Regions from separate parts of the Homo sapiens genome. Here region 1 is linked to region 2. Evidence: promoter capture Hi-C in 16 types of primary human blood cells and fetal thymus (Javierre and others, 2016). All regions are on one chromosome and are shown on one strand. The core of a region is centred on a gene start or on the middle of the fragment in contact, and the rest is flanking DNA. Distances in the headings are between cores, read along the strand shown. Region 1 has its middle 230 kb from the start of TANK-AS1. Region 2 holds the start of PLA2R1 (phospholipase A2 receptor 1).

Region 1 (6,262 bases), core at 3,433-5,932, 870 kb before region 2:
TTTTATGAATAAGAAAACTGAGGCCAAGAGAAGTTAAATAAAATGTCACCCAGCTGGCCAGTGGGAGAAGCAGAGAGCAAGCCTGGTTTAATGCCTTCATTTGTAACTCTTTTCACTTCTTCAAGCTGTCAATCCCCCTCCTTCCCCACCACAAGTTATATAAACTGATACCATTACCTGATACAAGTACAATTGAAGTTATATTGTTTTCTTAACATAAACACTGAAAGAATCCACGTATTTGTTTCATTTGAGGCTAAGACCCCTCTGAGGAGTGGGAGAGAAAGGCTCTCACAGGCAAGCTTCTTGGCAGTGTTGCACATGATCTTATGCATCTGCCTCTTCCACAACCTGGTCTCTGAGGATCCTTCCATCCAACAGTGGCTTAACCACTCACTCCTTTGGCTCCCTCTATTCTGAGGCAGCCTCTACCATAGAATCCCTAATAGTTTCGTCTGTATCTCTACCTCTTCCTGCAGATTGGCAGCTCCCTAAATGCAGGGTTCTATTTTGTTTTTTCCATTTGCTACTGTATCTCCAATTTGTAGCCTAATTCTGGGTGCACAGTAGATGCTCAATAAGTATTTGTTAACTGAATAAAAGAGCATCTATATGTCTGGTGTATCCGTATACCAGTACATTATAAAATCATGGGGCTACACACAGTGGTTCATGCTTGTAATCCCAGAAGTTTGGGAGACTGAGGCAGGAGGATCACTTGAGCCCAGGAGTTCCAGACCAGCCTGGGCAACACAGGGAGATACTGACTCTACCAAAAATTAAAAAAATTAGCCAGACATGGTAGTGTACACCTGTGGTCCCAGCTACTCAGGAGGCTGAGGTGGGAGGGTCAACTGAGCCATCCCAGGGGAGGTTGAGCCTATAGTAAGTTGTGCTTGTGCTGCTGCACTCCAGCCTGGGCAACAGAGTGAGACCCTGTCTCAAAGATAAATAAATAAAATATCGTGGAGTCACTTCCTACTTCTCAGTCTTTCTTATCCTCTATTCTCACCGGTTGCTAATTTCTGTTTATTCTACTTTTGGAATCTCTGTTAGATACGTTTATTCCTTCTCATTCTTACTGTCACTACCCTAATTCAGGGTCTCAGTGCTGTTTCCTTGAAGTCAGTTGTAAAAGTTTTGTAAAGTAACTTCTCCTTTTTGCCTGCACGCATGCCAGAGTGGTCTTCCTAGAGTCGACCTCCGATCATCTTACTCATCACAAGCTTTTAAGGGCTACAAAGCAACAATTAAGACACAGCATATCATTCAATGCCAAGAACCTTGCTACACATTTATTTCCCCAAACATCCTTTTATATCCTCTTCTTTTGAGCCCCCCTGAACTCCATCCTGTCTGTCTTCTAGTTTCTTCCCACCTCCATGCCTTTGCTGGTACTATCATAACATCTGAAATACCTGTCTTTCTCTGGTCTATTTGTGTACAAGGCTATGGTATGAAGCCACTTCTTCCATGAAATATTTCCCAATTGTGCTCTTGCTAATCTTTTTTTAGAAGTAATTTTTTTCTGGGTTTGAATTCTCATAGTACCTTATCTATATCATTTTAGTAGTATTTAATACCATCTGTGTATTAGGATTATTTATGCTACCACTCTGTGTCTCAAACAAGACAGTAAGATACTTAAGTTCAAGATACATATTTAATTATCTTTGTATCTTTCTTATTATTAATACATATGGTATTTCATATTTAGGACATATTGATAAATATTTGCTAAATTAATATGTGTAATTGCATAAATAAAGCATTGACAAGAAATGGGGCATCTGTATCAATGCAAGGCTAGTGAATGAGGTGATCCTGAAGCATGAATATAAATCAGAGGGATACATCACTGTAGCAAAGACATAGAGGTAAAAGAAAGTGCCTGTGTCACTTGACCCCCAGAGAGGGTGTATTAGGGTTTTCTAGAGGGAAAGAACTAATAAGATATATATATGTATATAGCTCTCTCATATATTTGAGTTTCTTAAGTAGTATTAACTGACACCATCGTAAGGTCCCACAATAGGCCGTCTGCAAGCTGAGGAGCAAGGAAGCCAGTCCAAGTCCCAAAGCTGAAGAACTAGGAGTCTGATGTTCAAGGGCAAGAAGCATCCAGCACGGGAGAAAGATGTAGACTGAGAGGCTAAGCCAGTCTAGTTTTTTCACGTTTTTCTGCCTGCTTTATATTCCGGCCACACTGGCAACTGATTAGGTGGTGCCCACCCAGATTAAGGGTGGCTCTGCCTTTCCCAGCCCACTAACTCAAATGTTAATCTCCTTTGGCAACACCCTCACAGACACACCCAGGATCAATAATTTGCATCCTTCAATCCAATCAAGTTGACACTCAGTATTAACCATCACAGAGGGCTTGCTTGCCTGAGTAAGAGATGAGAACTAGAACACTAGACATCTGGGGAGAAGACCAGGAAGTTCACAGGGATAAGTGAGTTGGACTGGAGGGTGATGAGCAGATATTGAATGTGTTCCTTATGACACAAAATGGCAGACATCTTTGGAATAGGCAGAAGATAAACTGGAAGTAAAGGAATGTTGAAGATAATGATTACACAGTACTGTAATCAAGATCCAAATAACTTGATGTGGCAACAACAACAACAAAATGGCTGTTCTTGGGGACCAACAGTGAGTCGATGTGTGTGGGTGTTGATGGGATGTGGAAAGAGGAATCAAAGGCAGGCAGAGGTACATCAGGGATGACTCCACTGACCATGAGGGAAAGGCTCTGAGACTCAAGATGCTCTTGGATTGTTAATATCAGAAATGTGCAGTAGCAGCATTGACTTTGGGGATGGAGATTGCCTTAGTACTGGAGAGAGGTCAGGGCGGATGCTCAGTTCTGTGAAAGAGGTGATGGCACTCATGGACTTCAGAGGCCTCCTCTAGATGTGACAGTCATTGGATATCCATTTCAGATGGGAAATACTGATACTCCAAATAGTTTGTCTATATTATTCTTACAATTTATCTGGGTCACAGAAGAATTCCCTTCTTACTGCAATTAAACAATGAATATCTGATTCCATGCCTAAGAGTAATTCAACATGGAGAATAAGGCATTGGGAACTCCTGGATTTTTTTTCTAGGCTTTTAAATGCTTTACTGAACAAGTCTAATTGCTCAATTTCCCTGCCAGAATCTCATCACTGGTTAAATGAATTCAGTAGTATTCACTTCAAAGCAATATTGTGAAGCTTAATTAATGAATGTCTTATTTATAAATTCTGACAAAGAATTGTTTTACTTCAAACCTTCAGGATAAAACCAAATTGAACCTGAGTTTTTCTGTGTCAATGGCTTTTCAAAGAAACAGTCTCTCTTTCTCCCTCTGGAGAAATCAGCGTAAACAGGGTTGGAATTTATCTAAACAAAAGAATGGGGCATTTTCATCATTTCACCATAAAATGGAATTTTTCTTGGAAAGGAGGTGCTTTTGTATTCAGTGTTCAATTTAGACTTGACTTTACCTTCTCCCACTGCCTGTCAATTATCGAGGACTAGGGAACACTTAGATTTAAGTGGTAAGCAGAGTTTATCCAGGGAGACAGAATCAGGGCAAAGTTGCATATTACATTCATTTTTAAATTTCTGTTCCCTTGGCTGTCTGTGGCCTGTAACTATAGCTACATGGTCAAATATTGTTTTTTCATATCTACCTCTCTTGGGGTGTGTGGGCAAATGCCAAAGAACAAAATAGCTGGAATAGTTTTGAGAAATTTCTCCACGTTTTTAAAACCCATTCATTGTATGGGAGAGATGACAAATCTATGTAGAAATCCTGTTTGGGCCTCACACAAAAATAACCCCACAGTTCTCTGTGGTATTTGGCCATCTCCTGTTTTTTTGTTTCAGGGTGACACAAGGTTAGATAAACCACAAGCACCGTTCTACTGGAGTCAAGGTTACAGTAAAGAAAGAAAGGGTTGGTGAATGTCAAGGTCAGTGGTTGTGGAAAACAGAATGGGTGGTGAGCTATAAAAATGGGAGCTTGGTTTTGGCAAATTGTGAAGCAGGTAAAGATTGCCTGCAATATTCCCTCCCTTTTCCTCTCCCTACACACCTCCACTTCTCCCCTCTACCAAAAGCCTATTCTTCACATGGCTATCTGGGTCTCTGTGCGCTCAAGTCACAATGGAAACTAAAGTTCCATTGCTGAAGTACTGGCTGATGCTTGAGAGATGTGTGGAGGGTGCCTGTGGCTTAGGTCTATGCAGAGATGCCTGTGGGCCCCTTACATAGATAAATAGGAGGGGAAATAGCTTTGGCCCAGTTAGGGTGGGGTTGGATGTAGGTGGAGTTTCTTGCTGGGAATAGGGAAGGAGGACTTAGAAACTCAAATGCTAAAATTTTAGACCTATGCAAGCTAGTAAAAGAGCTGTCTTTGAACCCTTTAAAGCACAAGATGTAGAGTATTGCCTGAAAGCACAGAATAGATTACTACAACTAGGAGGAAAGAATCACTTGGTTGGGACAATCAATGGCCCTGGTACCCAGCCCCAGGGCACTACATTTAATTTTCAGAATTAAACCAAACATTTTCAGAGATTCAGAATCACCTTGATATTTTTCATGTCTAGTTTCCAGCTGGAATGATATTTCAAAGTGCCAGAATTCTCATAAGACAACTACATTTTACAAATATCCAACCAATTCTGCAGGAGAGAGAGGTTTGGATGACAGTTATTAACAATCCTGATAAACTTCATGAAAGCATCCACCATTTTGGCTTCTTGTCCTGATGGAATTATAACTCCTTTTGATTTTCCATCTCTATAACTTTTTGAAAGAATAATAGAGTGAGAAATGCTTTAAACTTATACAATTTACATCCCATAAACTTATTCTGTATAAAACTTATTGGCCCATTTTGGAAAGAAAAACTTTTTATTTTTATTTTTGGCAGTGGCTATAAATAGCTGTATCATTATAACACTGTGAAGAATCATGGACTGAGAAAAGCTGAAAAGAAAACAAGAAAAAATAAATTCCTGTTTTTATCTTATAGGGCAAATAAATATTGGATTTCTCACAAGAGGCCTATAAAGTATTTTATAAGCAATAAATCCTTAATCTCTTAAGGAGGCAGCATGCTATGTTGGAATAGGAATCAGAGAGCAGTTTGTCCTCTAACTAGCTCTGTAATACTGGGTAAATGTGGCAGGCACGCTTGATTGTCTACCCAAAAGCCATTCTTCTAGGCTAATAGCTCCCCTCATTAGTCAACTCCCCACAGCTTGACAAATTCTCACCCCAGGGATGGAATCATGATTGGTCCAAGCTAGTCAAAGGACACCCCTGTCCTTTGTCAATGAATGGGTTAGTGGTGATCATGTGATCCAGTCTGGCCAATGAGATGAGAGGGGAAGACAGCTGGGGCCTTTCTTCAAAAAACTTCTTTGCACTGTAAAAAGATCCCAGCACTTTGGCAGGCTGAGGTGGGATCACTTGAGCTCAGGAGTTCCAGACTATACTGGGCAACATGGCGAAACCTCATCTCTACAAAAAAATACAAAAATTTGCCAGGCATGGCGGCATGCACCTGTAGTCCCAGCTACTCATGAGGCTGAAGTAGGAGGATTGCTTGAGCCCAGGAGGTGGAGGCTACGGTGAGCTGTGATCACCCCACTGCACTCCAACCTAGGCTACCAAGTAAAGCCCTGTCAAAAAAAAAGAAAAAAAAGAAAAAAGAAAAAGAAACACAAAAGACATCAACTATCAGCTTAACTAAGTGATCCAACATGGCATCACCAAAAAAGGGGCAAAGTGACATCCGGAGTCTCCTGATGTGTTGCGATGTAAACTACATAATTGGTGATTACGACAAACCACCAATTCTTGACAAAATGTATAACTAGAGTTTGTTCATGAGGAAGCAGTCAAATCCAGGTTGTGTGATATTTTATTAGAAAACTGGCCTGGACTCTCCAAGAACATTAGTCTCTTAAAGGACAGGTAAAGAAAAGGTAGAGCAACTATTCTGATTATCGGATATCAAAGGTACTTAATCCTTGATTGAATCTTGGATCAAAGGGAGGAGAAACTGCTTCAAAAGATATTTTTGAGATAAATGAAGAAATTTAAATATGGACTATATTTTTAGATAAAGCTTTTAAAAATAAATTAAGTTTTTGGCATATATAACAATATTCTGATTATATAGAAAATGTTCTTATTCTTGGGAGAGTTACCCTGAAGAATCTCGTGGTAAACTATCACAAGGTCTGCAACTTGT
Region 2 (7,076 bases), core at 3,617-6,116:
ATTGGAGACATTGGTTATTTTACCAAGGCTTTAATGGTGTGCTTTCCTTTAAGGAATCAAACTTGACTTATGGAGTCAATAAAAGCCCTTGGGGAAACTGGTCTCATACCTTCCCTGTACAGGGTTCCTGACCTGTGGTAAGTAAAGAATGTTACTTTCTGACAGGCCCAGGAGCTCCAAGTTTATCTTGGAACCTCAAGAGGAAAGGATCACCCAATTCACAGGTATTAGGTGGCACAAATTCACGGCTGGGCTCGGCTTTAAAAAAGTCTTATCTGAGATTCCTTCTATGGAATAAAGTCCCACCAAAGACAATTTAAAAGCCTATGTAAAAAAATAATTATTCTTGCTGCACAGTATGCAAATAATTAGGATAAGTATAATAAAGCAAATCAGTCCTACCATGATTTGTCTTTAAAAATGGGAAACTGGAGAGAGAAAAATTATGTTTCAAAAACTGTAGTACACCTGTTGTTAGATTCTAGTCTTGTCTGATGTTTTTCAGTTTTATTATTTTCTACAGTTTGGACTGAATTCTAATTTTTTTTGGCTATAAGTTTTCAAAATAATGTTTTTAATTTTTTTTCCTTTTCCCCCCATTTTTCCTAATTTGGAGTCACTGAAAACAAAGCTGTGCTTTTGTAAAGCTCTGCAAACTGAAACTAGACAACTTGAACTTCAGAAGAAAATAACAGCAAAACCTATTTACATACATAAGCCACTTTCATACCTGCCTACTGATGTATGGACTTCAGAGTAATGTGGTCTACATTGATTTTCCAAAATATTTCTTTTGTTTATTGTTGTTGTTCTCCCTTCCTCCCCCTATTTTCTCTTCATAGGACATGAGACTTTACAACTTTCTAAAAATGAGCTTTCCTAATAACTCAGGACCTACCTGTCTAGGAATAAATCATCCTAGCCATGAGATATCAGATAAAAGACTAAACCTGGAACCAGAGACTAATTTGCTCCAAACGATTTATTTTTTTGAGACAGAGAATGCACCTATCATGCAGGCTGGAGTGCAGTGGCATGATCTCAGCTCACTGCAATCTCTGCCTCTCAGGTTCAAGCGATTCTCTTGCCTCGGCCTCCTGAGTAGCTAGGATTACAGGCGTGCACCACCACACCCAGCTAATTTTTGTATCTTTAGTAGAGACGAGGTTTCACCATGTTAGCTAGGCTGGTCTTGAACTCCTGACCTCAGGTGATCCACGTGCCTCAGGCTCCCTTAATGCTGTGATTACAGGTGTGAGCCACCATGCTCGGCCTTCAAAAGATTTTTCAAAAGAAAAGGGGGGAAATGCGAAAGAAAAATATCTTGGGCCCCCCAAATCATTAAGCTAAAGGGAAAAGTCAAACTGGGAACTGCTTATAGCAAACCTGCCTCCCATTCTATTCAAAGACTTCTCACCAAGATAAACGCATATCTGATTGCCTGCTTTGGAGAGGCTAATCAGAAACTTGAAAGAATGCAACCACTTGTCACTTATCTACCTATGACCTGGAAGCCCCGCTCTCCACTTCAAGTTGTCCCGCCTTTCCAGACCAAACCAATGTTCATCATACATACATTGATTGATGTCTCATGTCTCCCTAAAATGTATAAAACCAAACTGTGCTCTGAACACCTTAGGCACAGGTCATCAGGACCTCCTGAGGCTGTGTCACGGGTGTGTGTCCTCAACCTTGGCAAAATAAACTTTCTAAATTAACTGAGGCCCATCTCAAATTTTGGGGGTTCACAGTCCCTTGGGTAAACATTCAACAAACCAGGACCTCACCCTTTCTTGCTGATACCCTGATTCATACAGTGCTCAAAAAGTTTTGTTAATTTTGACAAACCGCAACCTATACATTGAGTTTTAAATCCCATTTTCTTTACTGTCAATACCATTCAAAGTTTTAATATTTTTCTCAAGTTTCAAATCACTCCACACACTGTACAGTAAGTCTTCACTTAACACCATGGACAGGTTCTTGGAAACTGCAATTTTAAGTGAAATGACATACAGCAGGTCCTCAAACAACATTATTTCCTTCACTGTGATTTCATTATGACATTGATGAGAAAAAGAAAATTGGTTTCATTATATGCCATTTTGCTTAAAATCATAGTCTCTAAGAACCTATAGATGACGTTAAGTGAAGACTGACTTCATTTCTTTCAACCTCTTTCTTTTCCTCCCTCATTCCTTCGCTCATTCAGCAGAGACTGAGAGATGACTAAGTGCCAGGAAGTGTGCTGCCCTGGAACTCACATTCAGGTGAGAGATATAAATAATGAATTCCAACTCCAAAGGAGAAGGGAAGCAATGGGAAGCTGTACAAAGGCCAGCAGGCACTGAGCCCTCCCTGCTGTGTTCCCCAGCTGAAGTCCAGAGCCATAATTACCACTAGCACAGTGCTCTGTAGCATGGCTTCTGAGCTCTCCTTTGCTCTTGCTCTCTGCTCCTCACTCCCTCCCCACACACCCACAGCTCCCAGAGGTGAACTTTACAGTGTGTTAGCACTGTGCTAGCACTCTGCATACATTAGCTCATTTAATGCAACCACACAATGAAGCAAACATTATTATCTCCATTTTACACAGAAGGAAACTGAGGCTGGGGCAAACTAAGTGGTGTGCTGGTAAGTGGCAGAGCTGCCTCATTTAACCATGACCCTACACTGCCTCATGAACCTGAAACACACGTGAGCCCAGGATATGGGTGCTGGTCATTTTCTTGAAGGTTAAAAAGCCCTTTACCACAGATTTCCATTTCAAAGCTGCAGTGTTTCAGGAAGAGATTTTTTTTAAAAAAAGAAAAAGTAGCTCTTTTCTGAGTGTTCTAATGGTTGAATAGAAAATACGGGGTTGGTAGGCCAGGAAGCTGTCAACACCTCTCTTCATTATACTAATTGCTCTGAAGATGAAATAAGGTTTGTTTCTCCCTTCTTATCCTACTCACAGACCTAGCTCTGCTACTTCAGAATAGCATCTGCTATGGGTCAAGGGAGGCATTTTCCCCCCTCATTATACAGAGACTAAAACAGGACCATAGCACGTGAATAACTCACCCTGGTCCACAGCCAGTGAGAGGTAGCCCAATGTCCCAGCAACTGTCCTCATTCGTCAGGGTGCCCCAGTGGCTGCCTTTATTTCAGCCAGGCATGCCTCACTCTCTCCCATACAAGCAGTTCTCACTCCAACCTTTGTATAATTTTTTTTTTCACAATTTCTTCCCATCCTAGAACAGCCTCTTCCTCCCAATACCCACCATACTATCTGAGCATAGTTAGGCCTCTATGCCCACTCCAGCCTAGTCTCTCTCCCCTTTACTCTCACTGCCCTGGACCTCACCAGAGATTAGCATCAGTGTCCTGTTTTATGACCTAATTATGTCATGTGCATTGCACTTGCCTGCTGCAATACATGCCAGCCTGCTCGGGCAGGGCCAAATCTTCTATCATAATACTACGGGGATATTCCCATAGCAATGTAGTTCTGAGGCCATAGGAGAGATGGATACATAGTTTGTGGCTGAAGTCTGTGTAATCTACTAGGCTTAAAGCATCTCTTTTCTGCATGTTTTCAAGCAAGGATGCTGAATTCTACATGTAATGATATGTTATAAACTCTACACACATTGGAACCTCTCACATCCTCTCAACCCACCTCTTATTCCAGCCCCCTCTGCAGCCTGTTTCCCCCGGCTGTCCCCCACCCCCCAACCCTCTGAGAAACAACCTGACAGCGCCTCACCTTTTGCCATGCTATGCACCCAGGGCTTCTAAGAGACAAGGTATGGGACCATGACTGAAACTCACCACTGCTGTAGAACAGTGCAGAGGAGTTAATAACCCTAGGATCTCCCTTACCAACAGGGAAGGATAAAGTCCATGGATAAACGCTTGCCCCTTTTGTCCTCGACAGACAGTTCTGAGGCTCTCTGAGGTTCCTGCAGGACTGAGCACCTTTTGTTAAGGCCATGGCCAAGGCAACCACTTTCCCTTCTTCCCCATTTGGCTCTGACCTTCAATCTTGCTCCCTGCTAGGCATTTCCTTCCAGGCTCTGCTTTCTGCCCCTCCCCTCCCCCTCTCTTATGTTTTAATGACTAATGTCAAGGTCCCGCTGAGGAAAGGTCTTATATGAGCCTGTTCTCAGAATATTAAACGCTTCCAGTGTTCTGCTGGTTATTTGAAGGAGGACAGTTAGAACGACTACATTCTAGCCAGGGCTGTCCTACTTGCTAGAGAGTAACTTTTGCTGGATTAGGAAGTAACCTAGAGCAAAGCACTTCGACTTTCTGGGCAGGGTTTCTCAGCTGTAAAAATGGGATAATAGGGACCCCGGCTACTTTGCGGGGCTTGGGGGATCAAAGGAGTTGGAAAGAGGAGGTTATTTCAAAACCGAAGGAGCTGAATAGAAGAATCTCCGGGTTACTCTGGGGCAAGGAAGGTGGAGACCACGGCGTGGCCCCTCAGGTGTCTCCAGTGCTCCACAAGTCAAAGGAGTCCAGGACCCTCCCAAAGCGCCTGCGTCGCGGAGCAGCTGGGTTCACTCTAGGCTGCCCGCTGCAAATCCGCGGTGTTTACCAGAATCCAGGTGGTTTGCAAACCCGGATGTCAGGCTCCTTGTCCCGGAGATTCTCAAATCGCTCACCCACAACTCCTCTTCGGCCTCCCCCAGAAAGGAGAGAGCAGGGCTGCAAGCTAGAGGAGCGGAGAGTGTGACCCGAGCAGCCTCACTCCGCCTGTCCCCACCCCAAAGGCAGGAATTTCTGGGATGGGCAGATGGCCCACCCCTCCTCCTCCTCCTTCCCCAAGCCGCAGTGGGTGGGGCGAGGAAAACCTCCGCGACTTTCCCGCATCCCAGCCCAGAGCCCCGAGTGTCGGTTCACTGTGGAGACAGCGGTGGCGGAGTGGGTCTCCAGGGCTCTGGGCTGGCAAGGCCCCCGGAGGGGGTGGGGCGCGGAGGAGGCTACGGATCCGCTTCCGCGCGGCGGGGCCGGGTGCTTGGGACGCGGCTCTGGGCTCCCGGGATAAGGGGCTCCCGGGACAAGGGGCTCCCGGAGAGCCCAGTGGTTAGCGATGCTGCTGTCGCCGTCGCTGCTGCTGCTGCTGCTGCTGGGGGCGCCGCGGGGCTGCGCCGAGGGTGTGGCGGCGGCGCTTACCCCCGAGCGGCTCCTGGAGTGGCAGGGTGAGTCTCCCAGGGTCGGGGACTGGATCGGTACGTTGGGGAGGGGGGTCGGGGTGGTCGAAGGAGAGGAAGAAGGGGCGAAGCTAGGGGCCAAGCTGGCGGGCAAGGGCGGCCGCGTTTGTAGGGGTTCGTGTGTCAGCAGTCCTGAGCATGGGGGGAGCGGGTGGTGTCCTGCAGCCTCTTGTCTAGGCCCAGCACCCCACTTGCGCGGCCCGGCACCCTCCTGGCTCCTGCGGGGGTCGGGCGGCGGGGGCGGGGGGGCTTGGTCTCGCAGGTAACTCCTCTCGGCTCTGGCGCCCGGAGCCAGCCCGGGATAGGAGTGTCGGAGAAGTTTCAAAACGGAAACTTTCTGAGAGCTGCTTATTTGGGACGGATAAATGATAGCAAAAAGATGGCTCAGTTCGTCCCCTTGCAAAGCAAGCGCTCAGGGTCTGCGTCGCCACCTAGGAGTGACCCCCAAGCCAGGCCTCCCCAGTCCATCCCTTCCTTAAGGAAAACTTTTTTTGTTTGTTTGTTTTTTGAGACAGGGTCTTGCTCTGTCGCCCAGGCTGTAGTGTAATGGCGGGATCTCGGCTCACTGCAGCCTCCGCCTCCCGGGGTCAAGCGATCCTCCCACCTCAGCCTCCCGAGTAGCTGGGACCACAGGTGTGCGCCCGCACGCCCAGCAAAATTTTTGTATTTTTGGTGGAGACGGAGTTTCACCATGTTGCCCAGGCTGGTCTCCAACTCCTGGGCCCAAGTGATCCGCCCACCTCGTCCTCCCAAAGTTCTGGGATTACAGGCCTGACCCACCGCACCCCGCCTGAAAACATCAGGCCAGGTGAGGGAGAGAAGCCCCAGTGGCTCCATGAACTGCGTGATCTGAAGCCTTTATGCCTTAGTCTCTCTCAGTGGAAAAACGGGGTTCAATTCAGCAAACACTTATTGAGCACCTACTACACATGAGACTCAGAAGGTTGTGTAAAGAGAGGGAGGAGAGATTTCTGGCCTGCAGGGGCCCGCATTTGAGAATGGGCCACCTCAGGCAGAGAAGCCTGCGCCTAAGTGCAGAAGTCCATATATGCAAGTAGGAGGGGGACAGGAGGGAGTTAAATATGCCAGGAGGAGCCTCCAGACAGCCTCCATCCTCTCTGCCTTTGGAGATAAGTTTGGAGAGAAGGGGTAACACAAGATGTGATCAATATCTGCGTTCACATTTTTTCCTCCACAGTAGAATATGTCTACATTTTTGAGGTAGTCTTTTCTAGACTGTGTTTCCTAAGCTCCCTGGAGGCTTAATCAGGGGCAGGTAGAACAAGACCATTCTTATTCTAAAGTGACCAAAGTCAGAGATGCTCTTACCTTCTTGGTCAATTCAGAAAATTGCTCCTGTGGATGCACATCTGATCCTGTAGTATGTATGATTCCTTCCCACTAAGTTTACCATGCAGTGGTTATTCCTTTGCATTTTAAAATGTGGGTTTTGCCTGGGCACTAGGTGGTAGAACAGGGCAGCAGCCCACAGGACAGAAGTTGGACTGGGCCACACAGAGAGTATGTGCTGGTGATCCTCCGAGTGAAGGGCTAATCCCTTCTATATGTAGCAGAACCAAATACTGGCCTGAGACAAATTCTCATCAGTGCCTTCTTTTTAGTAGTCAAGGGCACTCTGAAATTAGAGCCATCTGCTAGCCCTTGTACCTACTAGGTGCAATTTGCACATCTGAAAAGGTTGACATAGTTGGCATAGAGATTCTTCAGATATGAAAATGCTGCTGCTGATTTTCCAAGGAGCACGGAGGTTATGTACCATTCCTCGCACAGGCACAGGCTCTCTCCCTGACTCCAGTCACCTGCATGAGTAGAATTTCAAGTGTAAGCTGGACAGGTTTGAAGTCAAGTTTTTACTGT

Evidence for each region. Contacts are between HindIII fragments. The CHiCAGO score rates a contact against its expected background, and 5 or more counts as called.
Region 1: a contact is called between a fragment that was not itself captured here and the fragment with the promoter of PLA2R1 in region 2, in 2 of 17 cell types (M2 macrophages and M1 macrophages). The highest score is 5.9, in M2 macrophages.

The regions. Positions count from the first base shown.
Region 1 is chr2:160,926,618-160,932,879 of GRCh38, reverse strand. No RefSeq gene overlaps it. Among named protein-coding and RNA genes, the nearest start is that of TANK-AS1, 230 kb to the left of the region's middle. The HindIII fragment of the contact is 2,912 bases long and covers 3,227-6,138 here.
Region 2 is chr2:160,060,405-160,067,480 of GRCh38, reverse strand. It overlaps PLA2R1 (phospholipase A2 receptor 1), which reads left to right and starts at 4,866. Exons shown (of 30, transcript NM_007366.5): 1 at 4,866-5,186. The coding sequence starts at 5,078. It overlaps LOC105373717 (a long non-coding RNA gene), which reads right to left. Exons shown (of 3, transcript XR_007087274.1): 3 at 6,680-7,018. The HindIII fragment of the contact is 10,793 bases long and covers 1-7,076 here.